2 separate regions of the Homo sapiens genome follow, and region 2 is linked to region 1. The links are contacts of gene promoters, found by promoter capture Hi-C in blood cells and fetal thymus (Javierre and others, 2016). All regions are on one chromosome and are shown on one strand. The core of a region is centred on a gene start or on the middle of the fragment in contact, and the rest is flanking DNA. Distances in the headings are between cores, read along the strand shown. Region 1 holds the start of GNB3 (G protein subunit beta 3). Region 2 has its middle 14 kb from the start of MLF2.

Region 1 (7,685 bases), core at 3,366-5,865:
CCACAGCCTCTCCCGCCCTCTGCCTCCCACCTGACAGCTCCAGGGCAAGCCGCTGCTCTCAGCCTCCCTGCCTGTCCCTCCCTTGGTTTGGGGTGAGAAGCAGCCCTGCCAACACATACCACGTGCCAGTGACTTCCCTATGCCCCTCGCCCGCTCTGCACTATACAGCGCTGCAGGCAGGCATCATTTCCACGTCGCAGGCAAGAGCACCAAGGCTTGCCTGCAGTGACCCGGCTAGAAGGGCGGACGGAGGTTGTCCCAGACTCCCAGACTACACAAGTGGGCTGGATCAGGGTGTGTAAGAACAGGGTCCAGTACAAATGCAAGGCCTGGATCTCACGGCGAGCAAATGTCAGATAAGCTCAAACGGAGGGAGAGTCTACAGAAAACTGGTTTGTACTCTTCAAAAACGTCAATGACATAAAAGACAAAGGTGGGAAAACAGTTCCAGTTTAAAGGTGGTGACGAAAAAGATATGGCGAGGAAAGGTAATGCACGTTTCTGGATTGGATCCTGGACAGAAAAAAACATGAGCTATTATGGACATTTTTGAGGCTATTGGTGAAATTTGAATATAGACTGTAGACTGTAGTATTGTGTCAATGTTGAGTTTCCTGATCTTAAGAATCATACAGTGATTATGCTACAGAAGGGCTTTGTTTCGGGAAGTACTTAAGGGGTAAAGAAACATGATGTCTGCAACCTACTTTCAAAAGACACAGAAAGAAAATGTATATCTACATCTAAGTGTGTATGTGTGTGTGTATCTATGGCTATTTCTCTACAGAGAAAAAATGATAAAGCAAACGTGATAAAATGGGCTAGGCGTGGTGGCTCATGCCTGTAATCCCAATATTTTGGGAGACTGAGGCAGGAGGATCGCTTGAGCTCAGAAGTTCCAGCTCAGCCTGGGCAACATAGTGGGAACCCATCTCTACACAAAAATCAAAACATTAGCCAAGCGTGGTCACACGCATCTGTAGTCCCAGCTACTCAGGAGGCTGTGGTGGGAGGATTGGTTGAACCCTGGAGGTTGAGACTGCGGTGAGCTATGATAGCACCACTGCATCCAGACTGGGCAACAGTGTGAGACTCTGTCTCCAAAAAAAGGAAAGAAAGAAAGGGCTAGGGAAGACTGGGCACAGTGGCTCACATCTGTAATCCCAGCACTGCACTCTGGGAAGCTGAGGTGGGAGGATCACCTCAGGTCAAGAGTTCAAGACCAGCCTGGCCAACATGGCAAAACCCCATCTCTACTAAAAATACAAAAATTAGCCGGGCATGGTGGCGCACACCTGTAATCCCAGCTACTCAGGAGGCTGAAGCAGGAGAATTGCTCCAACCCAGGAGGCAGAGGTTGCAGTGAGCCAAGATTGCACCACTGCACTCCAGCCTGGGCGACAAAGTGAGACTCTGTCTCAAAAAAAAAAAAAAAAAAAAAAAAAATACAGTAAGAAAGGGCTAGGGAAGCTATGGGAGGGGCAGAGGATGTGTATTGTATGTGTTGTGGGGAGTGTCGGGGAAGGAGTTGGAGTGAAGCTGGGGTGGGGGGTGCACTCACACAGATGGCGTTGATGTCCGACTCGTGGCCAGTGAAAGTCTGACGGCAGGTCCCCTCTCGCACATCCCAGAGCTTGGCACTGGCATCACAGGCCCCCGAAATGAAGAGATTGAAGTCAGGAGACACAGCCAGGCTCATGCAGTCACCCGTGTGTCCCACAAATACAGTCTTCTGCTGCCCAGTCTCAATGTCCCACAAGGCACTGCCAAAATGGAGGGAGACTGTTAGAGAAAGGCCGGGCCCACTCCCAAGCCCCAGCACCAGCAATGTTCAGCCTCACCACGTGGTGTCCCCCGAGCTGGTCACAATATTGTTGTCATCCAGGAAGCGGCAGCAGGAGAGATAACCTGGAGGCGGTTAGAAGGACAGTGCCCTGGCTGCAGAGCCACAGCCCACTGGAAGCCCAGGGTTCCCTGAACCCCTCAGGAGGGGAGGAGAGGGTCTCTCCCTCACCTGTGTGAGCAGAAAGCTCCCGGCTGACCTTGACATTGCCCTCACGGGATTTGAGGTTGTAGATGGAACACATGTTGTCCAGCCCCCCACATGCCACAAAGTTCCCTGATGGGGCATAGGCACAGGTCATGACCCAGGAGGAGCGCAGTGGGATGGCGTGCACCTGCAGGGAGGGTGGTTTGAGCAGAGATGGGACCGGAGCCAAGCTCCCAGCTGGGCACAGGAGGGTAGGCATGGCGCCCTTAGGAAGGATGCAGTGGTGGAGGCTCAGGGAGGCAGGGCTGGTACCTTGTTGGTGGTGTAGCTGTCCCACACGATCAGCTTCCCATCTTGCGAGGCACTTACCAGCAGCCTGGGGAGAGGGCATCCCATATCATGCAAGCCTCCCCTTCCCGCCTTCCTCACTCCCGCTCTCACCCTCCCATTCTCGGTTCCCCCCCAAGCCTCACTTAGAATCAGTGGCCCAGTGCATGGCGTAAATCTTGGCCAGGTGTCCCCTTAACGTCCGCCGCGTCCGCATCTGGACTCGTCCCACCACCTCTAGGCCAGACACCAGCTGCAGAGAGAGGGGCACTGAATATCAGGGTGAGCAGGTTACGTGCCCAGATGTCTGTCACTGCCACTGATCTATACAAGTTCCCGCTCTGTGCCAGGCTCTAGGTCAGGCCCCCAGCCTTAGAGAAATAAGTCTCTGCCCTGGAGTGTCTTAGACTGATGTGGGAAAGAGATGCATGCATGGCCAGAGGTGTGTTGCTTGTAAGTGTTTAACAAGCACCTCTCCAGTGTTGGTGAGGAAGGTGGGAAGGTGATTTCCACGATACGAATACTTGCACTTTGACCAGTTTCCAGCTGCCAATGTGAGGTCATTGGAAACAGATTTGGGAAGAGATGCACAGAGCTGGCTCTCCCAAGCCGAGAGGAGCCTGCTTGCACCCACCGCTGCAGCACGGCTAGCTTTTTAACTGGGTGCCTGGGGCATCACCATGACCCTGAACTGTACCTCCTGAAATCTGTGGTACTATGCCCCTTGAGCTCTAACCACATTTTAGACTTAGGCTGGGGGTCCAGAGTGAACAGACTTGATTTGCCATCACTTGCATTGCTATCTTTTTTTAAAAAGTTAAAAGCAATTTTTTTTATATTAAGAAGAGATCTCACTATGTTGCCCAGGCTGGTCTCAAACTCCTGAGCTCAAGTGATCCTTTCACGTCAGTCTCCCAAAGGGCTGGGATTACAGGCGTGAACCACTGCGCCCGGCCTGCTTTGTTATCTTGGGCAAGTTGCTTCACCTCCCTGAGTCTGTTTACTCAAGGTGTAAAATGAGGCTTATCATAGCACCTACCTTACAGAGATATCATGAAAATTCAATGAAATCAGGTATTTATGCAGCTTAGCCCAGTATCTGGCTCATAAAAAGTGTTCACTATTAACATATTTAATCCAATCTAAGATGCATCACTAAGAAAGAAAAGATGCTGTCAATTCTAATTGAAACAATGATCCATTGCTGAATGCACCTTGATTTCAGAGATGTCAAAATGTGAAGAAATGTGCATCTTAGAATTGACAAAATACAGCATAGAAAACTAGCAGCTAGAGTCTACAAGGGCTTTATAATTTACAAAGTACTATCGCTTCTTCATCTTCAAGGCCCTGGGAGGGGGCTGTGGTCACTCTTGTTCTACGGATGAGAATAGGAACCGTGTCCGCATCTTTCGCATCCAATATGGTGCCTGGCTCAGAGCAGGTCCCGCTAAAATGTTGGTCGAATGAATTAATTAATGGGTTTCCTCACTCCAAGGACGTGCTGTACTAATGCTCGGAGCAACGCGCTATTGCGGGTCGGGGAGCTCCCTTCCCCTCCCCCCATGCCCTGCCTTCCGGGGGACAGGGGGTCTTACCTCTGCCAGAGTAACGTCAGCACAGGCTTTCCTGGCATCCTGCAGGGAAAGCAGACATCAGGGGAGCAAGGGCGAGGTGGGGGTGGCAGGTGCATGGGCCTTCAGGGCAGGTTGGTCTTGGGGCTCTGGGGCTTGGGGGTCTCAAATATGCGAACCAAGTTTAGAAAGTCCCTGGTCACTTCTAGTCACTCAAGAGCAAACCCAGCCCCCTCCCCCTGGGCCACGCTCCTCATGTCCCCAGCTGTTTTCTGGGGCCCCAGGGGTAGGGCTCTGGAGTTACTGCAATCTGCTTCTTGAGCTGCTCCGCTTCCTGACGCAGTTGCTCCATCTCCCCCATGGCTGACAGGTCGAGGGGTCACTCTGGCTCCTGCCAGGAACATGGGGTCGGTGTTGAGGAACCCCCCACCAGGCTGTGCTTCTGCCCTTCGTGCCCACACCAGACTCCAAGACACAGGGAAACGACTGGGTGGCTGCACCCTCTCCCCAGCTAGGCCCTCCAAGTTTGAGGTCCTTTGCGTCCAGCCCCAGCCTGCCTGAGCCCTGCCTGCGCCCCAGCCCAGGAGAGCAGAGCCCAGGCCAGCTCCCTCTTACTTGGGCTCTGGCTGGACCTCGGCCGGGTTTCCAGCTCCGGTTCCTGGGAGCCTCCTTACTCCCTCAGCTGCGACGCCCGCGCCCGCCCGTCACCTGCCCAGGCTCTGCTGCCAGAGGAGCTGGCCTGGCCTGGCCTGGCCCCGACCGGCGGGGGGTTGGGGGGGCCTGACAGGGAAGGGTAGAGCCAACCACAACGTCAGGCAAATGAAATCAGCTGGCAGGGGTGGGGGGAAGGGGTGGGGGGAGGGAGGGAGGTGTACGGATTCCAGAGAGACTTGGGCCCAGCCGGGAGGAGGGTTGGGGGCAGGAGTGTGGGGCCATAGAGAGGGGCAGCCCCCACCACAAGCCCTGAGAGAGGAGGGGGTGAAGGGGTGCTTCCCTGGTCAGTCTCTGCAGGCAGAGATAAGAGCATCAGGCCCCACAGGATTAGAGCAAAGCTGTGAGGATTAAGGGTTGGGGTTTGGGAGGGGTGCAAAGGAGCAGACAACTACAGCTCCAGTGGCCCCCCTGGTCCCGGCCCCCATCCATGGTGATGATCTTGGCAGTCAGGGCCACTTAGCAACCAGGCCAGGAGGTGGGATATAAGGGTGATAGATGGCCCCATTGTCAGTACCTCAAACTGTGCTCCTCAGCTCAGGGTGGTGGGGAAGAGGGTTTGGTGAGTATGGGAGGGTACAGGCAGGAGCTGAGATTAGAAAGGACTGATCTGGATAATCCTTCTTCTCGACAAACCCCAACCAGCTGCCTCTGGGTCTGATCCTGTTGGGGGAGAAAGGTACAGGGGACCCACAGAGAAGGATGGACAGGTCTGCCCCTATTGTGGGCGGGCAACGGATTTCAAGTGGAGGGAAGGCCCGCACGCTGCTCCCAGGCTGGGGTCTGGCCCCCTCCTTGCCCTCTCGAGGCTGTGAAAGCAGGGGTCAGAGAGAAAGCAGGCGGCCCTAAGTCTCAGCAAAGCTCAGAGAGGGAAGACAGGGCTTACACTTGGAGGCCTAAGGAGCAGCTGCCAGGGGCTTGGGTCATTTGCATGAGGGGAGCAGGTGGCTGAGATTTCCCTGACAAATCACAGGCTCCAGGCGCCCCGCCTCTGGGAGGCCCAAAGACACCTGTCTCCTCCCAGGCCAGCCAGAGCCACCCCCACCTCCAGCCATCACAGAATCTGTGATACACTTGACTGGCCCCTGGCTGAGAGATCTTCACGACCTTTATTGCACAGACTGGGAGAGAGGAGCAGGGTTATACCTCCCAACCCCACCATCCTCTTCATTTAAAGCATCAGCCTCCTCCCCTGCCATTTCTGTTCAGGGAGGCACAGTGTTCCCCATCTGTCCAGGGCTGCAGGTCCGGCAGCGGGGCCCCGTCCCAGCTCCCCAGGCCTGGTGAGCTCCAGGCTAGCCTGTGCACTGTCCTCTGAGTCCAGGCCCTTGTAGGTCCCCAAGATGGTGGGGGTGCAGGGACAGAGAGCTTGCTGTTCTGCTCCTGATGTCACACAGGGGCTTCCTGTGTGTCCTGGCATCAAGATGGCCTTCCACAAGTCAAGTGGCCACATCCTCAAGGAGCTGGCTCAGCCACTCACAGCTCCTCCCGAACCCGAGGTGCCCTTCCAGTCTTGTCTTGGACCCTCTGGTGCCTGCGGCTAGGGGGCTCTGGGGAAGGGTCTTTGCTGGGCATTTCTTCCTCTTCCTCTTCCTCCTCCTCCTGTGACTCCTGCAGCAGTTCTTTGGCTTCTATCCACTCCTGGGGTTGGGGAGGAGAGTGTGGCCCATTCCCTGCACCCACCTTCCCTGGGTCAGCTCAGCCCCTGACCCTCACCGACTGTGAGCCTTCTCGGGGGCTCCTTGCCCACCCTTCACGCACCAGGAGAACCACATCCCTTCCTACCCCGCTCCTTACCTGCTCCCTGTGCTCAGGTGCCCACGTGTGCCACAGTGCCAGGGCACAGCGCCGTCCCCGAGTCACGGCCCACACCCCATGGGGATTCTCGACACCGGAGCTGAAGGCCACAAGGCGCCCACAGCGAGGACGCACCCGAGCCTGGAGGGATGAGGGCAGGTTCAGCTCCAGGGATTGGCTCTCTCAGAGAACTTGGCCCTCACTCCCTAGAGCAGGATGGGGACAGGGGCACAGAGAGGATCAGCTCTCTCGCTACCACTTCCTACTCCTTAATTCAGGGACTAGCTTGGGGCAAATGAGAAATCAGCTTCAACTTGCAGAGCAAAAATGCAAGAGGAGTTGGGAACCAAAGGAAAAAGGGGTCTCCACGGATGGTCTCCTGTTGGTTCCTGACCCCTGGTACCCTGATTTTTCCCACTCAGCCCTTTGAATCCAGGGCTTGAAGCAATCTGGGGCTGTGCATGCAGTACCAGACTCTATGCAGAAGGGGATACAGATATTGGAACCATTTTCACACCCCACACCCAGATGAACAATCACTGCCCCTCTCCTCCTACCCAATCCTAGCCCCTGGTGTCCGGAAATTTCCCACCTAACATTCATTAATTGCTTATCATTACCAGGCGCTGCCTCATTCTTTTAGGTACATTACCTAAATTACTTCCTACAATGACCCTTTAAAATACGTACTATTATTATCACCCCAGTCTAGGAAACTAAACCTCAGAAAGGTTCAGAATCCGAGCCCCAGTCAAGGCGGCCCTGGTATCTGTGCGCCAGCCACTGTGCTCACCTCGCTGCAAAGAGGAAGGACTATTTCAAGTTCCCCAAATCCCTAGAATAGGGCCATGGAGTCCTGGAGGCACCTGCAAGCTGTGCTTCATTCACCCTTCTTTAGGAGGCGAGACAAATACTGATGGTAGGGTTGATTCGGCCACTTAGAGACCTTGCTACGGAGGAAGCAGCGGGAGGGCTGCGGAGGCGGGGAAGTGAAAGGGTTAAAAGCCCTGGCCATTTCCCTGCATTTGCCTCTGGAGCCTTCTGTTTTGAATCCTGACCCCACAGCTGGGCCCTTTGTCACACCGTCACACCCCCCACTCCACGCACCGTGACAGTGAGGGCGTTGGGCTCCGTGAAGAACAGGTCCCCACCCTGGAAGTCATCGTTGAGGTAGAGGAGTCCGCTGGGGAGGGAAAAAAGCAAGAGGCAGTGAGACCCCAACCCAGGCCCAGGCCGGCAGTGGGATGACCTTTGTCTGCCCACCTGCCTGACCACTAGAGGGGCTG
Region 2 (7,685 bases), core at 832-3,331, 100 kb after region 1:
GTCTCTCCCTGTGTGCGGTGATGAGAGAGCATAGAAATAAAGACACAAGACAAGGAGATAAAAGAAAAGGCAGCTGGGCCCGGGCGACCACTACCACCAATGCGCAGAGACCGGTAGTGGCCCCGAATGTCTGGCTGCGCTGTTATTTATTGGATACAAGGCAGAAGGGGCAGGGTAAAGAATGTGAGTCATCTCCAATGATAGGTAAGGTCACGTGGGTCACGTGTCCACTGGACAGGGGGCCCTTCCCTGCCTGGCAGCTGAGGCAGAGAGAGAGAGAGAGGAGACAGAGAGAAAGACAGCTTACGCCATTATTTCTGCATATCAGAGACTTTTAGTACTTTCACTAATTTACTACCGCTATCTAGAAGGCAGAGCCAGGTGTACAGGATGGAACATGAAGGCGGACTAGGAGCGTGACCACTGAAGCACAGCATCACAGGGAGAGGGTTAGGCCTCCGGATAACCGCGGGCCAGCCTGACTAATGTCAGGCCCTCCACAAGAGGTGGAGGAGCAGAGTCTTCTCTAAACTCCCCCGGGGAAAAGGAGACTCACTTTCCCGGTCTGCTAAGTAGCGGGTGTTGTTCCTTGACACTTTTCGCTACTGCTAGACCACCTCCCAGGTTCAAGTAATTCTCCTGCCTCAGCCTCCTGAGTAACTGCAATTACAGTCGCATGCCACCACGCCTGGCTAATTTTTTATATTTTCGGTAGAGATGGGGTTTCACCATGTTGGCCAGGCTGGTCTCAAACTCCTGACTTCAAGTGATCTGCCCACCTGGGCCTCCCAAAGTGCTGGGATTACAGGCGTGAGCCACAGTGGCCGGCCTGCTTTGTGCATTTTAAAGCGCTTTAGTTAAATGCATAGACATTTAGAATTATTGTATCTACTTGGAAAACCAAATATCTTATTATGTAATGTCTTTTTTGTTTTGTTTTGTTTTTTTTGAGACAGAGTCTCGCTCTGTCACCCAGGCTGGAGTGCAGTGGCATGATCTCGGCTCACTGCAACCTCTGCCTCCCAGGTTCAAGTGATCCTCCTGCCTCAGCCTTCTAAGTAGCTGGGATTACACGCCTGGCTAATTTTTTTGTATTTTTAGTATTGATGGGGGTTACACCATGTTGGCCAGGCTGGTCTGGAACTCCTGACTTCGTGATCTGCCCACCTCGGCCTCCTAAAGTGCTGGGATTACAAGCTTAAGCCACCAAGCCCAGCCAATGTCCCTCTTTATCTCTGGTAATTTTCTTTGCTCTGAAGTTTAGTTAACTGTTACTACAGCCATTTTCAACTTTCTTTTGGTTAGTGTTCATGGTACGTGTTTCTCCATCTTTTTACTTTTAACCGACCTATGTCATACTTAAAAGTATTTGTTTTCTTTTTTAAGACACTGTATTTCTGGGTCTTTTAAAAAAATTATTTTGGCCGGGCGCGGTGGTTACGCCTGTAATCCCAGCATTTTGTGAGGCCGGGGTAGGCAGATCACGAGGTCAGGAGATCGAGACCATCCTGGTTAACACAGTGAAACCCCATCTCCACTAAAAATACAAAAAAAATTAGGAAGGCGTGGTGATGGGCGCCTGTAGTCCCAGCTACTCGGGAGGCTGAGGCAGGAGAATGGCGCGAACCGGGGAGGCGGAGGTTGCAGTGAGCCGAGATCGCACTACTGCACTCCAGCCTGGCAACAGAGTGAGACTCTGTCTCAAAAAAAAGAAAAAAATTATTTTGATATTTTTTTAAAATAGAGATGGGGTCTCTATTCACTGTGTTGCACAGGCTAGTGTCAAAATCATGGGCTCAAGTGATCCTCACGCCTCAGCCTCCCAAAGTGCTGGAGTTAAGAAGTGAGTCTTTTTTTTTTTTCTTTTTTTTTTTTTTTTGAGACAGGGTCTCACTCTGTTACCCAGGCTGCAGTGCAGTGGCACAGTTACAGCTCACTGCAGCCTTAACTTCTCAGGCTCAAGCAATCCTCCCAACTCAGCCTCCCAAGTAGCTGGAACTACAGATGTATACCACCAGCCTATCCGTCTTTTAATTGTAGTTAGGCCATTTAAATTTAATATAATTGCCCAGGTGTGGTGACTCACACCTGTAATCCCAGCACTTTGGGAGGCCAAGGCGGGAGGATTGCCTGAGGTCAGGAGTTCGAGACTGTCCTGGCCAACATGGTGAAACCCTGTCTCTACTAAAAATACAAAAATCAGCTGGGCTTGGTGCATATGCCTGTAATCCCAGCTACTCGGGAGGCTGAGGCAGGAGAATAGCTTGAACCTGGGAGGCAGAGGTTGTAGCAAGCTGAGATCGCGCCACTGCGCTCCAGCCTGGGCGACAAGAGTGAGACTCCATCTCAAAAAAATAAATAAATAAAAATAAAAAATTAATATAATTAGTATGTTTGCATTTATCTCTTTTTTTTTCTTTGTTTCTTTCTTTCTTTTTTTTTTTTTGAGACAGAGTCTCACTCTGTTGCCCAGGCTTCAGTGCAGTGGCACGGTCTCGGCCCACTGCAAGCTCCGCCTCCCGGGTTCATGCCATTCTCCTGCCTCAGCCTCCCAAGTGACTGGGACTACAGGTGCCCGCCACCACGCCCGGCTAATTTTTTTGTATTTTTAGTAGAGATGGGGTTTCACCATGTTAGCCAGGACGGTCTCGATCTCGTGATCCACCTGCCTCGGCTTCCCAAAGTGCTGAGATTACAGGTGTGAGCCACCGCGCCCGGCAATATTTCTATTATTTATTATTTATTTTGTTTGTTCTGTTTGTAATTTCTCTGTCTCCATTTTCCAGCCTTGTATTGGTTTACTTGAATGTTATTTAGTATTCCATTTTAATTTATGTACAGATTTTTTTCACCCAGTAAATCTCTGTATCATTTTCTTTTCTTTTTCTTCATTTTTTGAGTCGGAGTCTCGCTCTGTCGCCCAGGCTGGAGTGCAGTGGTGTGATCTCGGCTCTCTGGAAGCTTCGCCTCCTGAGTTCACGCCATTCTCCTGCCTCAGCCTCCCGAGTAGCTGGAACTACAGGAGCCCGCCACCACGCCCGGCTATTTTTTTGTATTTTTAGTAGAGACGCGTTTTCACCGTGTTAGCCAGGATGGTCTTGATCTCCTGACCTCGTGATCCGCCCGCCTCGACCTCCCAAAGTGCTGGGATTACAGGCTTGAACCACCGCGCCCGGCTTTTTGTTTTGTTTTTTGTTTTTGAAACGGAGTCTTGCTCTGTCGCCCAGGCTGGAGTGCAGAGGCGCGATCTCGGCTCTCTGCAAACTTAGGCTCACTGCAACCTCCGCCTCCCGGGCTCAAGTGATTCTCCTGCCTCAGCCTGCCGATTAGCTGGGACTACAGGCGCCCACCACCATGCCCAGCGAATTTTTTTTTTTTTTTTTTTTTTGAGACAGAGTCTCGCTCCTGTCGCCCAGGCTGGAGTGCAGTGGCGCGATCTTGGCTCACTGCAAGCTCCGCCTGCCGCGTTCACGCCATTCTCCTGCCTCAGCCTCCCAAGTAGCTGGGACTACAGGCGCCCGCCACCACGCCCGGCTAATTTTTTTTTTTTTTTTTTTTTTTGTATTTTTAGTAGAGACGGGGTTTCACCGTGTTAGCCAGGATGGTCTCGATCTCCTGACCTCGTGATCTGCCCGCCTCCGCCTCCCAAAGTGCTGGGATTACAGCCGTGAGCCACCGCGCCAGGCCTAATTTTTGTATTTTTAGTAGAGACAGGGTTTCACCCTGTTGGCCAGGATGATCTCGATCTCTTGACCTCGTGATCTGCCCACCTTGGCTTCCCAAAGTGTTTGGATTACAGGCATGAGCCACCGCGCCTGGCTTTCTTTTCTTTAGTGGTCGCTCTAGGACAGGCATTGGTGACATCTCGCCTCACTGCAACCTCTGCCACCTGGGTTCAGGCAATTCTCCTGCCTTGGCCTCCTGAAAAGCTGGGATTACAGGCGCCTGCCACCTCGCCTGGCTAATTTTTGTAGTTTTGGTGGAGGCGGACTTTCACCATTTTGGCCAATCTGTTCTTGAACTCCTGACCTCGTGATCCACCCGCCTCGGCCTCCCAAAGTGCTGGGATTATAGGCAAGAGTCACTACACTGGGCCGGCAAACTTTTTCTGTAAAGGGCCAGATACAATAAATATGATGAGCTTTGTCAGCCATACAATGTGTGTTGCAACACCCAAATCTGATGCTGTAGTGCAAAAGCAACCATACATGATATGCAATGAATGAGGTGTAACTACAGTCCAACAAAACTGTATTTACAAAAACAGGCAGTGGGCTGGATTTGGCCTGTGGAATATGGTTTACTAACCCTTACTATGGGGATTACAAAATACATACTTTTCACAATCAGAGTTTTTTTCTACCACTTCAAGTTAAATGTAGAAATTTTACCACAACATAGCTCCCTTTACTGTCTCATCTCGTAGTTCTCATATGTGTTACTATAAATGACAAACACCACATACTACAAATACTGAAACTCCACATACTAAACGCTAAAAATGCTTAGTTCTAGGTGAATTTATCTATTGATTTTTAATTTTTGAGACAGGGTTTCACTCCTGTTGCCCAGACTAGAATGCAATGGCACAATCTTGGCTCACTGCAACCTCTACCTCCCAGGCTCAAGCAATTCTCCTGCCTTAGCCTCCCAAGTAGCTGGGACTACAGGCACAGGCCACCATGCCCCACTAATTTTTTTTGTATTTTTTATAGCGGCGAAGTTTCACCATGTTGCCTAGGCTAGTCTAGAACTCCTAGGCTGAAGAGATCTGCCCATCTCAGCCTCCCAAAGTGCTGAGATTATAGGTGTGAGTCACCACACCTAGCCTTCTAGGTGAATTTATTTATTTCTTGAGACGGAGTTTCACTCTTCTTGCCCAGGCTGGAGTGCAATGGCGCGATCTCAGCTCACTGCAACCTCTACCTCCAGGTTCAAACAGTTCTCCTGCCTCAGCCTCCCAAGTAGCTGGGATTACAGGCATGCACCACCACGCCCGGCTAATTTTTGTGTTTTTAGTAGAGACAGGGTTTCACCATGTTGGCCAGGCTGGTCTCCAACTCCTGACCTCAAGTGTTCCGCCCGCCTTAGCCTCCCAAAGTGCTGGGATTACAGGCGTGAGCCGCGGTGCATGGCTCTAGGTGAATTTATAATTGTTTTAAAATTATATTTAGAGAATTCCCTCTTGAGACAAACATCAAATTTATGATTTTCTTTCAGCTGTCATAAACATTTTAAAGAACTTAAGAGGAGAAAAATAATCTATTATATTTACCATTGCTGCTGCTCTTCATCCTTAATGTTCCGTGTTTCCTTTGGTGTCATTTCTCTTCTGCCTAAAGAACTTCCTTTAGGATTTTACAGCGGGTTTTCCGGTGACAAATTCTTATTTTCCTTCACCTGAGAATATCTTTATTTCACATTCATTCCTGAGCAATATTTTCACTGGATATAGGATTTTGAGTTAATTCCCTTAAGCCCCTTAAAAGTATCATTCTAGTTCCACCTGACTTTCATAGTTTCTGACGAAAAATGTGCAGTCATTTGAGTCATTTTTATCCTGTGTGAAAAGCACTGTTTTTCTGAATGCTTGTGGGACTTTTTTCTTTGTCTTTAACCTTCGGCAATTTTATTCTGATGTGTCCAGATATGGATTTTTTTTTTTTTTTTTGAGACAGAGTCTAGCTCTATCACTCAGGCTGGAGTGCAGTTGGCTTGATCTCGGTTCACTGCAACTTCCACCTCCCAGGTTCAAGTGATTCTCCTGCCTCAGTCTTCCAAGTAGCTCGGACTACAGGCATGTGCCACCACGCTGGCTATGGACATGGATTTGAGTATATCTTGTTTGCTATCCACCAAACTTTTTGAATCTGTCTTTGTCTTTTGCCAGGTTTGGGAAGTTTTTGTTTTTGTTTTTGTTTTTGAGACAGAGTCTCGCTGTTGTCACCCAGGCTGGGGGAGTGCAATGGCACAATCTCAGCTCACTGTAACCTCCACCTCCCAGGTTGAAGCGATTCTCCTGCCTCAGCCTCCCAAGTAGCTGAGATTACAGGTGCCTGCCACCACGCCTGGCTAATTTTTGTATTTTTAGTAAAGGTGGGGTTTCACCATGTTGGCCAGGCTAGTCTCGAACTCCTGACCTCAGGTGAATGGTCCAGCTCAGCTTCCCAAAGTGCTGGAATTACAGGCGTGAGCCACCACATCCGGCCTAGTTATTGCTATTTTCTGTTTGGTTCTTTATATCTTCCATTTCTTTGCTAAGACTTTCTTTACATTTGTTTCAAAAGCATTCTCCCTTTCTTCTTCCTGCATGGTTAGACTGCTTGCAGCATTTGCTTTAAATTCCAACACTTCTGCCTCCTTGGGGTTGGCTGTCTTTTCCCTGGAGAGTTATTTGTATGCTGAGTCACCTTAAATCATACTCTGGATATTTTGAATATTATGGTTTGAGGCTCTGGGTCTTGTTAAAATCTTAAGGAGCATGTTGAACATGTTGAATGGTAATTTGTTTTAGCAGGTAATCAGGTTCAGGCAGCAAGTTTTGACCTGCCTTTTTGGCACTGTGGTTTCAATGTCGGTTTTATTTTAAAAGTGTTTGCAGTGCTATTTGGATCAGGCCGGCTCGGGTGCCACCCAGTGGCCAGTCAGACCTGGACAGTGATCCATTCTGTAATTCAGTTCACAAAGCCTTAGGTAGGCTGTTCAGGGACAGATCTACGCTTGCACAGCTCAGAGCTTAGCCCAGGAGTTCATAAACTTTTACGGGATTGTTCTCTTGATTTTCCTCCCGTGTCTCTCTGACATTTTTTGGGCCCCTGGGGCTTCCCTCTCCATTCCCATATGATCGTGCCACTGTACTCCAGCCTGGGTGACAGAGCAAGACATGGTCTCAAAAGCAAAATAAAACAAAAAACAAGATGTATTTGCCAATTGACTGATAAATGAACAGTAAGTATAGGATTGTCTATCTTGCCCCATTCCCCAAATTATGCATTTCCTATTGAGGGACAGGCAGCGGGTCACAGAATGAAGCCTTTCTGCCTGCAGGCCTTTATCCCACTATTCTTCCCATCCAAGATGCTCGCCCTCTCTTTCATCAGGCTAATTCCTACTTGGGCTTCTAGTTTCAGTTTAAAGGTCATGTCCTTGGAGGCTTTTCTGACCCCAAGCAAGATGTAGATCCCAGTTAAATGCTTTCGTGTCACCCAATACTTCTTAAAGTACTTATCACACTTGTAATATATAACCATGTACTTAAGAACCTCAAAGGACAAGTTTCTCTTGCTCTCTTGCCCTGTACTCAAAAGTTTCACTTTTCCCTTCTCTCTCAGACGGTGACCTTGGGCCCCCTTACATGTCTTCCAAGGCCCTGCAGTAGCCTTTTCAGAGCCCTTGCAGAGCTGAGTCAATGAGGGTGATGAGGGCACATTTCCAGTTCACACCCCGGAGGTTCTAATTCAATAGAAAAGGGTGGAAGTGGGGTCCAGGAATGCACATTTTCAGAAGCTCCCCTGATGATTTTGATGCTGGTGGCCCAGAAAAACTGCCTGTGATAGGCAGCTTCTAACATGGTTTCCAATGATTCCTGCTTGCTGACAGCCACACCCTGTGTAACCTTCACCCCTTGAGTATAGACTGGACCTGGTAACTGGTAAAAGTGAGGTAATGTCACTTCCATGATTAAG

The links. Contacts are between HindIII fragments. The CHiCAGO score rates a contact against its expected background, and 5 or more counts as called.
Region 2: a contact is called between a fragment that was not itself captured here and the fragment with the promoter of GNB3 in region 1, in 13 of 17 cell types (non-activated CD4 T cells, activated CD4 T cells, total CD4 T cells and 10 more). The highest score is 13.1, in non-activated CD4 T cells.

Annotation. Positions count from the first base shown.
Region 1 is chr12:6,837,855-6,845,539 of GRCh38, reverse strand. It overlaps GNB3 (G protein subunit beta 3), which reads right to left and starts at 4,615. Exons shown (of 10, transcript NM_002075.4): 1 at 4,507-4,615; 2 at 4,196-4,282; 3 at 3,916-3,954; 4 at 2,464-2,570; 5 at 2,303-2,366; 6 at 2,015-2,177; 7 at 1,842-1,908; 8 at 1,562-1,763. The coding sequence starts at 4,252. It overlaps P3H3 (prolyl 3-hydroxylase 3), which reads right to left. Exons shown (of 15, transcript NM_014262.5): 13 at 7,507-7,582; 14 at 6,400-6,540; 15 at 5,693-6,243. The coding sequence ends at 6,079. It also overlaps a transcript of CDCA3 not described here. The HindIII fragment of the contact is 12,557 bases long and covers 1-7,685 here.
Region 2 is chr12:6,734,817-6,742,501 of GRCh38, reverse strand. No RefSeq gene overlaps it. Among named protein-coding and RNA genes, the nearest start is that of MLF2, 14 kb to the left of the region's middle. The HindIII fragment of the contact is 1,764 bases long and covers 1,200-2,963 here.